3 separate regions of the Homo sapiens genome follow, and all the other regions are linked to region 1. Evidence: promoter capture Hi-C in human tissues and cell types (Jung and others, 2019). All regions are on one chromosome and are shown on one strand. The core of a region is centred on a gene start or on the middle of the fragment in contact, and the rest is flanking DNA. Distances in the headings are between cores, read along the strand shown. Region 1 holds the start of KCNH4 (potassium voltage-gated channel subfamily H member 4). Region 2 holds the start of NBR1 (NBR1 autophagy cargo receptor). Region 3 holds the start of RAMP2 (receptor activity modifying protein 2).

Evidence for each region. The method cuts DNA at HindIII sites, captures the fragments that hold promoters and counts their contacts. A contact is called where the count stands out against the background at its distance.
Region 2: the fragment with the promoter of NBR1 here is called in contact with the fragment with the promoter of KCNH4 in region 1 in 1 of the 25 tissues and cell types used here (aorta).
Region 3: a contact is called between the fragment with the promoter of RAMP2 here and the fragment with the promoter of KCNH4 in region 1, in 1 of the 25 tissues and cell types used here (adrenal gland).

Annotation. Positions count from the first base shown.
Region 1 is chr17:42,179,782-42,182,564 of GRCh38, forward strand. It overlaps KCNH4 (potassium voltage-gated channel subfamily H member 4), which reads right to left and starts at 1,361. Exons shown (of 17, transcript NM_012285.3): 1 at 1,089-1,361. The coding sequence starts at 1,164. RefSeq lists an enhancer at 1-321 and silencers at 1,271-1,510, 1,517-1,792. The HindIII fragment of the contact is 13,187 bases long and covers 1-2,783 here.
Region 2 is chr17:43,169,821-43,172,603 of GRCh38, forward strand. NBR1 (NBR1 autophagy cargo receptor) reads left to right here and starts at 1,394. Exons shown (of 21, transcript NM_005899.5): 1 at 1,394-1,482. LOC101929767 (a long non-coding RNA gene) reads right to left here and starts at 583. Exons shown (of 2, transcript NR_110868.1): 1 at 306-583. It overlaps LOC124900391 (a long non-coding RNA gene), which reads right to left and starts at 1,144. Exons shown (of 2, transcript XR_007065760.1): 1 at 596-1,144. It also overlaps a transcript of BRCA1 not described here and the pseudogene BRCA1P1. RefSeq lists enhancers at 215-424, 695-744, 995-1,104, 1,425-1,534. The HindIII fragment of the contact is 14,047 bases long and covers 1-2,783 here.
Region 3 is chr17:42,759,799-42,762,581 of GRCh38, forward strand. RAMP2 (receptor activity modifying protein 2) reads left to right here and starts at 1,429. Exons shown (of 4, transcript NM_005854.3): 1 at 1,429-1,560; 2 at 2,036-2,101; 3 at 2,557-2,665. The coding sequence starts at 1,464. RAMP2-AS1 (RAMP2 antisense RNA 1) reads right to left here and starts at 1,459. Exons shown (of 6, transcript NR_024462.1): 1 at 1,082-1,459; 2 at 837-913; 3 at 628-715; 4 at 1-82. RefSeq lists a silencer at 1,543-1,632. The HindIII fragment of the contact is 24,962 bases long and covers 1-2,783 here.

The DNA of each region.
Region 1 (2,783 bases), core at 111-2,610:
CTGCTCAAAGTCTAATGGGAGAGGGCATTGAGCGTATAGCTCCAGCAACCCCCAGCAGCAGAACCCGAGCTGTCTCCCTCCAGCTCCAATGGGTGGGAGGCCAGGGGGACTCCTGTGGGCCATCCAGGGACAGAGACTCAGCTAAGAGATGGGGCCTGTGACACAACCAGTCCTGGTGCTCTAGGAGGGATGACTGTCTGGGGGCAGGGAGGCTGATGGGGACACTGAAGGTGCCTGGGAGGCACTGGGCTCTGGGCACAGCCTCCTTCTTCCATCCCAGGGCCTGTTGCCCCGGTGATGGGCGCTATGGAAACAAGGTGGTGGGGAAGAGGGTAGGGCCCGGCGGCTCAGTTTCCGCCCTCGGGTACCGCTCCCCCACCATCCAGATCCCGGCCAGGGTTCCCGAGGGAATGGCGGGGTTGGGGGAGGTGAGGGCGGGGAATCTCTGGGTTCCAGAGTGGGAAGAGGGAATGGCGGGAGAAGAGGCGGGGGAGGAGTGATGTGGCTGTCCAAGGTGCTGAACCTGAAACCCAAGCTACGTTGGGCGAGCTGGGAGTTCCCACCGTCGCACAGACCGCTCCCCTCCTCCTGCCTCACCCACCTTAGACACTGACGCCCCACGATTTGGGGGCGCGCGACCTCAATCCAAACTAGGTCCTGCTGAAGTCTGATCTTTTCTCCTTTTTTTCTGGAGGTAGTGGGAGCTGGAGTCTGTGAGTAGACCCCAGAATGCCCGGCCACTTTGCCCCACTTCTGTGTCTCGGATACCCCCATACACGCCCCCAGCACAGCTCTGCCCGAGAGTGGGCGGCTCCGAAGGACCCTCCTCCGCTCTGCCGCACAAAGAGCCTCTTCTGCCTCGAGTCACACCCCCTAACCTTGGCCCCCGTGCTCTCGGCCCTTTCCCCTCCTCCCCTCGCAGGGCACTCCCCGCCCTGTTCCTGCACCGCGGCTTTGGGAGTTCCTAGACCCGCACCTCCATTCTCTCCCCTCGCCTCGGGTCTCACCATGTCCAGGAGATCCGAGACGGCCCCGAGGATACTTGCCCCCCAGCTCGAACCTCAAGCCCCGACCTCCGTCCCACTCACGCGTTCCGTCAAAACGGGTGGCGATGGTGTCCAGGAAGGTGTTTTGCGGGGCCAGCAACCCCTTCATGACCGGCATGGCCCCGGGGCGTGGGTTCAAGGCGCGGCGCTGGGGAGCTTTCAGCGCGGCCGGGCCGGAGGGGGCGCGCTGTCGGAGGGGCCGGGGCGCCCCATGCGCCCTCCTGCCTCCTCCCCTCCCTCTTACTGCCGCTGCCGCTGCCGCTGCCTCTGCTCCGAACCCCGTAGCTCTCGGCTCGGCTCAGCGCCGTTTCGGTCCCCCCCACCTCCCCACGGGCCAGGTTCTTCCCCTCGGGCTCGGCCCGCACCCGCCACGTGGCCCCACACGGGGAGGGGCCGCTAGCGACACCCGCACCCCTCTGGGCAGCCCTCCTCCCAGAGGGGAGCGGCCCACGCGTGTCTCTCGGGGAGAGAATTCGGGGCACGCCCACCGGGAGGGGAGGCCTGAAATGATGGGCGGGGCTTGAATAACAGACCCGCCCTCTTCCAGGCTGGCCACGCCTCCACACGTGGTTCCCTGGCTGCTCCTTGTGGCTCCACCTCGCGGGTTTTCCCGCGCGGCGTCCACGCTGGGCTGGTGTCTGGTTCACAGTGCCGCCTACTGGAGTTGACATATTTCGCAGCACCCACAGGCCAGTAGCTCCAGCGTGAGACAGCAAGGGTTAAGAGGCTAGTTTGCTGGTAGAGAATGGACAATGGGAAGGCTTGAAACCCCAACTCTAGAAAGCACCATTCTTACCTCCTGCCTCAGTTTTCCCAAGACACCCTGGCGAACTCTGCCTACTGAGACACAGCATGGTGGAATGAAAAGAGCTTTGGAGTCCACCAGGTAGAGTCCCAGCTCTAGACACCAATCGTGTGATATCCTCTCCAAGCCCACTTTCCTCATCTGTAAAATGGAGCTGATAATTCTTACCTGATGCAGTTACCGTGAGAATGTAATACCATAATGCATGTCTTTGGTACAAAATAAGTGTCTTGAAGGGCAGTTGCCTGCCTGTTTTCCCTCTTCCTACTGTCTTAATCCTCCTCTCTGCTGCCCTTCAAGTGGAAGAGAGGCTGGAGGCAAGTTTGGGAGAAACTACCTCTGAAAAAGATAGTTTCGAGGTGGGCAGAGTCATGGCTTGCAAATCTCCAAGGATGCACATGTGAACTTTGACCTCTAACTTCTCCAAGATGGAACCAGTACAGCAGCAAGAGGGACCAAAGTGAGACTAGACACAGGACTTTCTCACTACCTATGCAGAAAATTGAGGCAGCTGAGTTCTGTGGCTGAGGGTGGCTGCTTCCCACGACAAAACAGCTGAAGCAGTGAAAGTGGGAACCCTATGGGCAAGGAGGGCAGGCTAAATTCTCCCCACCCTCTGAGCTAGGTATTATCTGGGATGTTAGATTGCTAAGAAGTGCCACATTTTTCTGTGTCTCTACTTTTGTTGTTGTTGTTGTTCTTGTTGTTCTTGTTCTTGTTGTTTTTGAGACGGAGTCTTGCTCTGTTGCCCAGGCTGGAGTGCAGTGGCATGACCTCAGCTCACTGCAACCTCTGCCTCCTGGGTTCAAGCAATTCTCCCGCCTCAGCCTCCTTAGTAGCTGGGATCACAGGCGTGCATTACAATGCCCGGCTAATTTTTGTATTTTTAGTAGAGATGGGGTTTCGCCATGTTTGCCAGGCTGGTCTTGAAC
Region 2 (2,783 bases), core at 144-2,643, 990 kb after region 1:
CGGCCTGTCCCCCGTCCAGAACGTCTCAGCGAGCTCACGACGCGCAGTCACGTTTTTTTCCCCCCCTCTACACTGCAGATGTGGCTCCCAATGTTGACGTTGGCCAGGACCTTTGCAAACAAGCCAGGCCAAAAAGTTTCAATATTTACACTGGCTGCTTTAATAAGGGCATTGATCTTATCCTCCGTAAAGGTCACCTCATAGTCCTGCAGAATGAGGGCAGAGTAGATGCAGGCAAGCTGGGAGACGGAGGCCATAGCGCGGGCGAGTGTGGGGCTGGGGCTGCCGGACGCGGTGCTACTCACCGGATGAAGTGAGGGTCTCACCCCAACGCGGCCTTAGCTTCCTCGGAAGGACCGAACACCTTGGCGGCAGCCGAGGAAAGGGGTTCCACAGTTTTAATTTATCTGTAATTCCCACGCTTTACTGTTGCCACGGAAACCGCTGAGCAATAGCCTCTCAGAATAGGAAATCAAGACACAGTCAGAGGAAGGGCGGGACAGAAAGAGCCTAGCATCTCTCGGGGCTCTGGGTTGGCCACCCAGTCCTCCCCTGGTGACATAAAAAGAAAGAGACGGAAAAGGAAGAATTCTACCTGAGTTCGCCGTAAAGCGCCCGCCCTCTCGCCTCTACGCTTCCAGTTGCGGCTTATTACGTCACAGTAATTGCTGTACCAAGGTCAGAATCGCCACCTGAGGCCTGAATATCAGCGTAAGATAGTGTCCAAAGCAGTCTTAAGAAGAGGTCCCATTACCCCACTCTTTCCGCCCTAATGGAGGTCTCCAGTTTAGGTAAATAAAAGGATTGTTGGGAGGTGGAGGGAAAGAACTACTATTTCCAACATGCATTGCGGAACGAAAGGCCTTGGCCACACTGTTCCTTGGAAACTGTAGTCTTATGGAGAGGAACATCCAATACCAAAGCGGGCACAATTCTCACGGAAATCCAGTGGATAGATTGGAGACCTCCGCGGGCTTATACATGTCAACAGTAATGGATTGGAGTGTTGTTATGTTCTCCTATCTTGAGAGCAGAGACTAGGCCAAAAAAAGATACCTACAACTCCTAGGAAGACTACGATTCCCATCCAGCCCCACGAGTCTCGGGCAAGTAGTCCTCTAAGGTCAGTGGCCTGCGGGGACGCAGTGGGCGCCGAATTTGCCTGGGGAAGGGGAAATCCGCTCTGGCCCACATCTGCGCACTCCTAGTTCCGCCCCTCAGCCTCAATGTTTGTTATTGTTGTTCGGGTTCAGGTTGCTTCTGCCCCGCCCCATCGACGCAATCTCCACCAATCAATGGCGTGGTCGTTTTGAGGGACAAGTGGTGAGAGCCAATCATCTTGGCGAACACTCGGAGAAACAGGGGACTAGTTACTGTCTTTATCCGCCATGTTAGATTCACCCCACAGGGATAGCGGCAGAGCCGGTAGCGGACGGTCCTTGCATTGGCCTCCGGCAGGCGCCCCCCGGGGGCGGGAAGCTGGTAAGGAAGCAGCTGCGGTTACCTAGGGGTGGGGTCACGTCACGCTAAGAGGGTTTGGGGAAGTTCAAGGGAGGAATCCTGCAAAGAAGAGGGGCGACTTTTTCCGTGTTTCGGGACAGCTAATCTTTTTAGTGACAGGATGAGAGAGCCCTTCATGTTCAGAGGGACCGAGTTGGCGAGAAGCGCCGGAGAGTTGGAGAGTCTGTGGGTCAGAACATCCGGCTTCTACTGATGGAAGGCCACGACTCCCCAGTGGAATGAGGGCCTAGGCAAAGAAAATGAGAGAGCCCTCGGGGTAGTGACACTGTCTTGGGAACATGGAGTGCTAGGAAACGAAAACTGGAAGACTAGGATGAACTCTGCAAGTAAAAAAATGACACTACTTACACATCCTTCTCATCCCATCCTCGTTTTTTCGAGACCTTAAAGAGATCTCCTTGGTTAGGGACCTTCGGTTTTGGAAAGGCACTGTTTTTCCTTTTTGTCAAACACTCAGCTTTCAGGCCACACTTTTTTGAGACAGAGTCTTGCTTTCTCAAAGACCAACCCAGGCTGGGCTTGAACTGCTGAGCTCAAGCGATCCTCGTGCCTTGGCCTCCCAAAGTGCTGGGATTACAGGTATAAGCCACCGCTCCCGGCCTCAGGTCACACATTTTAAAGCCTGGATAACTTGGCTTGTAAAGGCCTCTGGTGGAGACAGTAATCAAAGCTCAGGTTGCCAGGTCTGTTTCATTAAAGGGATTTTGTTGAGGCTGAAAAAAAAATCGACGTGGAGGAAAAGCTAACTTGTGCCAAGCAAAGGTGAGTCAGTGGCATGGACTTACAATAATGCCAGTTATGAAAGCTGAAGGCCTAAGACCCAGCTATCTGACTCTACTGGCTGTAGACCTAAGGGGCAGATAGGGTTAACCATAGCTTTGGTGTTTACACACGTTTAAGATTAATGCTCCTGCTGAAAGAATTTTTTTACATGTCAGCCAAAGAGAGTTCCTTATGAAGACCTGGATATGGTCCAGCCAAGCTAGAATCTCCCACTTCCTGTTTTCTCTTAGTTGGCCCACCAGCTGGAGGAGCTCCAGAGTATCTAAATTTCCAATTGTGTAATTTGAGAAAAAGAGAGGAAGATTCATTTCCTTCACAAGTAGGGAAGTGTGTTTCTTGAAGTTGGAAAGTGATATTTCAGAATACCCACTTTTGGCGGACTGAGTCACTTCATTTCCTTGATTTTTTGCCTAAGGTCCTGGGGAATTGACAAAGATTCTCAAATTTTAAGGACCCCAATAATTACATTTCATATGAAT
Region 3 (2,783 bases), core at 179-2,678, 580 kb after region 1:
CAAAAGCAGCCTCTTGACCATAGAGGAGGACAACAGGTTATCCGTGCCCATGATCCAAGAGCTTGAGATCCTGAGATGAAGACTTCAGGAGAGATCAGGACAGATAATTTGTGGTGGGCAGGAATCAGTAAACTGGGACAACAGCAGCAGCTGAGTCCAAGGGTCAGTGTCTGGGAGTAATTTAGGAAAGTTTGGTGCTGACAGCTGTGTCTGGGACTTGAACGTCATGGCCAAACCAGCTCCTGGGCTCCTCAGCTGCTTCAGACTAATGAACCTCTGGCCCAGGACACAAGAAGCAGCTGTGGTGTGGCTGAAGTCAGGACCCCCGGAGGCCCAGACTCAGCCTTGCTGCTTCCTTAACAGTGTGACCTTAGATAAGTCACTTAGGAAAAGAGGAAAGGAAACTAGCATTTAGCGAGTGCAGTGCCCTTTCACAGCTGCCATCATACAGTGAGGAGGGGAATGTCCCTATTTCACATGAGAAGTCCTGAAGGTAAACGTGTCATTCAAGGCTCTATAGCTGGGGAGTAAGAAGACAGAATTAGAACCCAGAGCTTCTGAATTCAAATCCCGGGCTGTTGGCCCTGAGCTTTAGCTTCTCGGTCTGTAAAATGGTGTTACACTCACCTGGCACATGAAGTCGCACACTGAAGGTTCTAAAACCCCTCCATTCTTTCTCCCAACCGTGGTCCTGAAGAGCTGTGGCACCTTCTTCCTGGGAACGTAGTCATCGTATTTTGCCCTCCCCACAACAGGTTTGTGGGGTCTAGGCCCCAGGAGGTGTCTGAAGGGAAGGTATTTGGACTTTGCTTTCCCCTCTACCCCACTCCCCAGACCTTCTCCCGACTCCAGAGGGCTGGCTCCCGCTTCTCCTCCCTGGTTTTGGCTGGCGGACTGACATCAGCTGGTATTCCTAGGGATAGGATAAGGAACCCTGAGCTGCATGGCTCAGCTCCAGGCGCCCCTTCCCCCACAACCCAGGACAGCCCCTTAGAAGCAGCGGCGTCGAGAGGCCGCTGGAGCTCCCAGCCCCCTCCCTCTTCTCCACGTCTGGGAGAGCAGCTTGCCGACCCCTCCAGACCCGAAAGAGAGAGGGGGCGACTCGAATTCGGGGAGCGATCCTGGGAGACCCTGGAGAGTCCTGGGCGCCACGCAGCCGAGCCCCCGAAATAGATCCCGGTTCCGGGGTTCCGGGAGCTGTCCAGCCTCGCGGGGTGAGCTACGAGAGGGTGGGCCAACGCCGGCGAGGCGGAGGGAGCCGCGGGCGCCAGGCGCGGGTGAGGCAGCGACTCCCCCTCCAGCCGCGGGCCCCGAGCGTCGCCCCCGCCCCCCACGTGGCCGCCGCCGTCCCAGCCCCTCCGAGGAAGCGGCGCGGCTTCCTGCAGCTTGGGCTGGGGATATAGGCGCCCCCACACCCGGGCCCGGCTCAGCGCCGCCGCCGCTCCTCGCCTCCTTGCTGCACGATGGCCTCGCTCCGGGTGGAGCGCGCCGGCGGCCCGCGTCTCCCTAGGACCCGAGTCGGGCGGCCGGCAGCGCTCCGCCTCCTCCTCCTGCTGGGCGGTGAGCGCGGCGCCCCGAGGCCCGGGCGGGAGGCGCGAGAGGCCCCGGAGGGGAGAGGGGAGAGGGGAGAGGGGCTGGATGGCCGAGGCCGGAACGGGCCCTGGGGTGCGGGTTAGGACCGACGTACCTAGCAGCACTGGCCCTCGGACGGTCCCTGACCCCACCTCGGGGCGGGCGCAGCATGAGCTGCTTCCCACCCAGGGAAAGCTGGGGTGCTGGCCCCGGCCCCTCGAAGAGGGCTTAGGAGGACGGAAGCTGGCCAGAGATGAGGGGGCTTTGGGCCTGGGTGTGAGTGACAAGGAGCTGGTGCCAGCCCCTCCCTCCCCGGCACTGAGGCGTCCGTGGGGGCTAGATTATTCCTCCTTTTCTTCCAAGGTAGCCTATTTTCGGAGGGTCTCAGTCCCCCAACCCCCCTCGCAGGCTCCACTGCCGGGGTCCCCGCTATGTTACCCTCCTCTCCCGTTTCTTCCCACAGCTGTCCTGAATCCCCACGAGGCCCTGGCTCAGCCTCTTCCCACCACAGGCACACCAGGGTCAGAAGGTGGGTACCCAGGGTGTGGAAGGGTGGCCGAGGGTAAGGACGAGAGCAAGTTCAGTGGGGAGGGTTCCTTTCCCACGAGGCCTGCCCAACCCCAGCTGATGCCCCACTACACTCCCCTCTGTTCTTTCTTGGGGTTCCTCGTGGTCTTTCTCCCTGTCCTCCTACAAAGCCCCTGCACGGCTCTGAGCTGCCCACCTCACAAGTGGGCGAGAAGACCCCAGGAAAAGGTGTACGTGGAAGTTCTTATCAGGCTGGGATGGAAAGTGCTTAGCACATGGAAGTCATTATAGGATTCCTGAGCTGGGACTCTGTCCTCAGCCAGAATGTTTTGCTAGGGAAACTTTCTGAAGGGTTCCCACGTTTGAAGACAGGCAGTTCACCTTGCAAGCACCTGGGCAGGAGGGTTTGTAGGGAGGGGTAGGGGTGTGGTCATTGTGTAGCATCTGTACCTACAGGGGGGACGGTGAAGAACTATGAGACAGCTGTCCAATTTTGCTGGAATCATTATAAGGATCAAATGGATCCTATCGAAAAGGATTGGTGCGACTGGGCCATGATTAGCAGGTAGGGGCAGTGATGGAGGGTGGCTCAGGCCAGGGGGTGGACCTGCTCATTGCAGGTAGACCCTGAGTGAGAGTGGGGCACTCTTCTCCCTGGGTCCACCCCCTCTCTCACTCAAGTC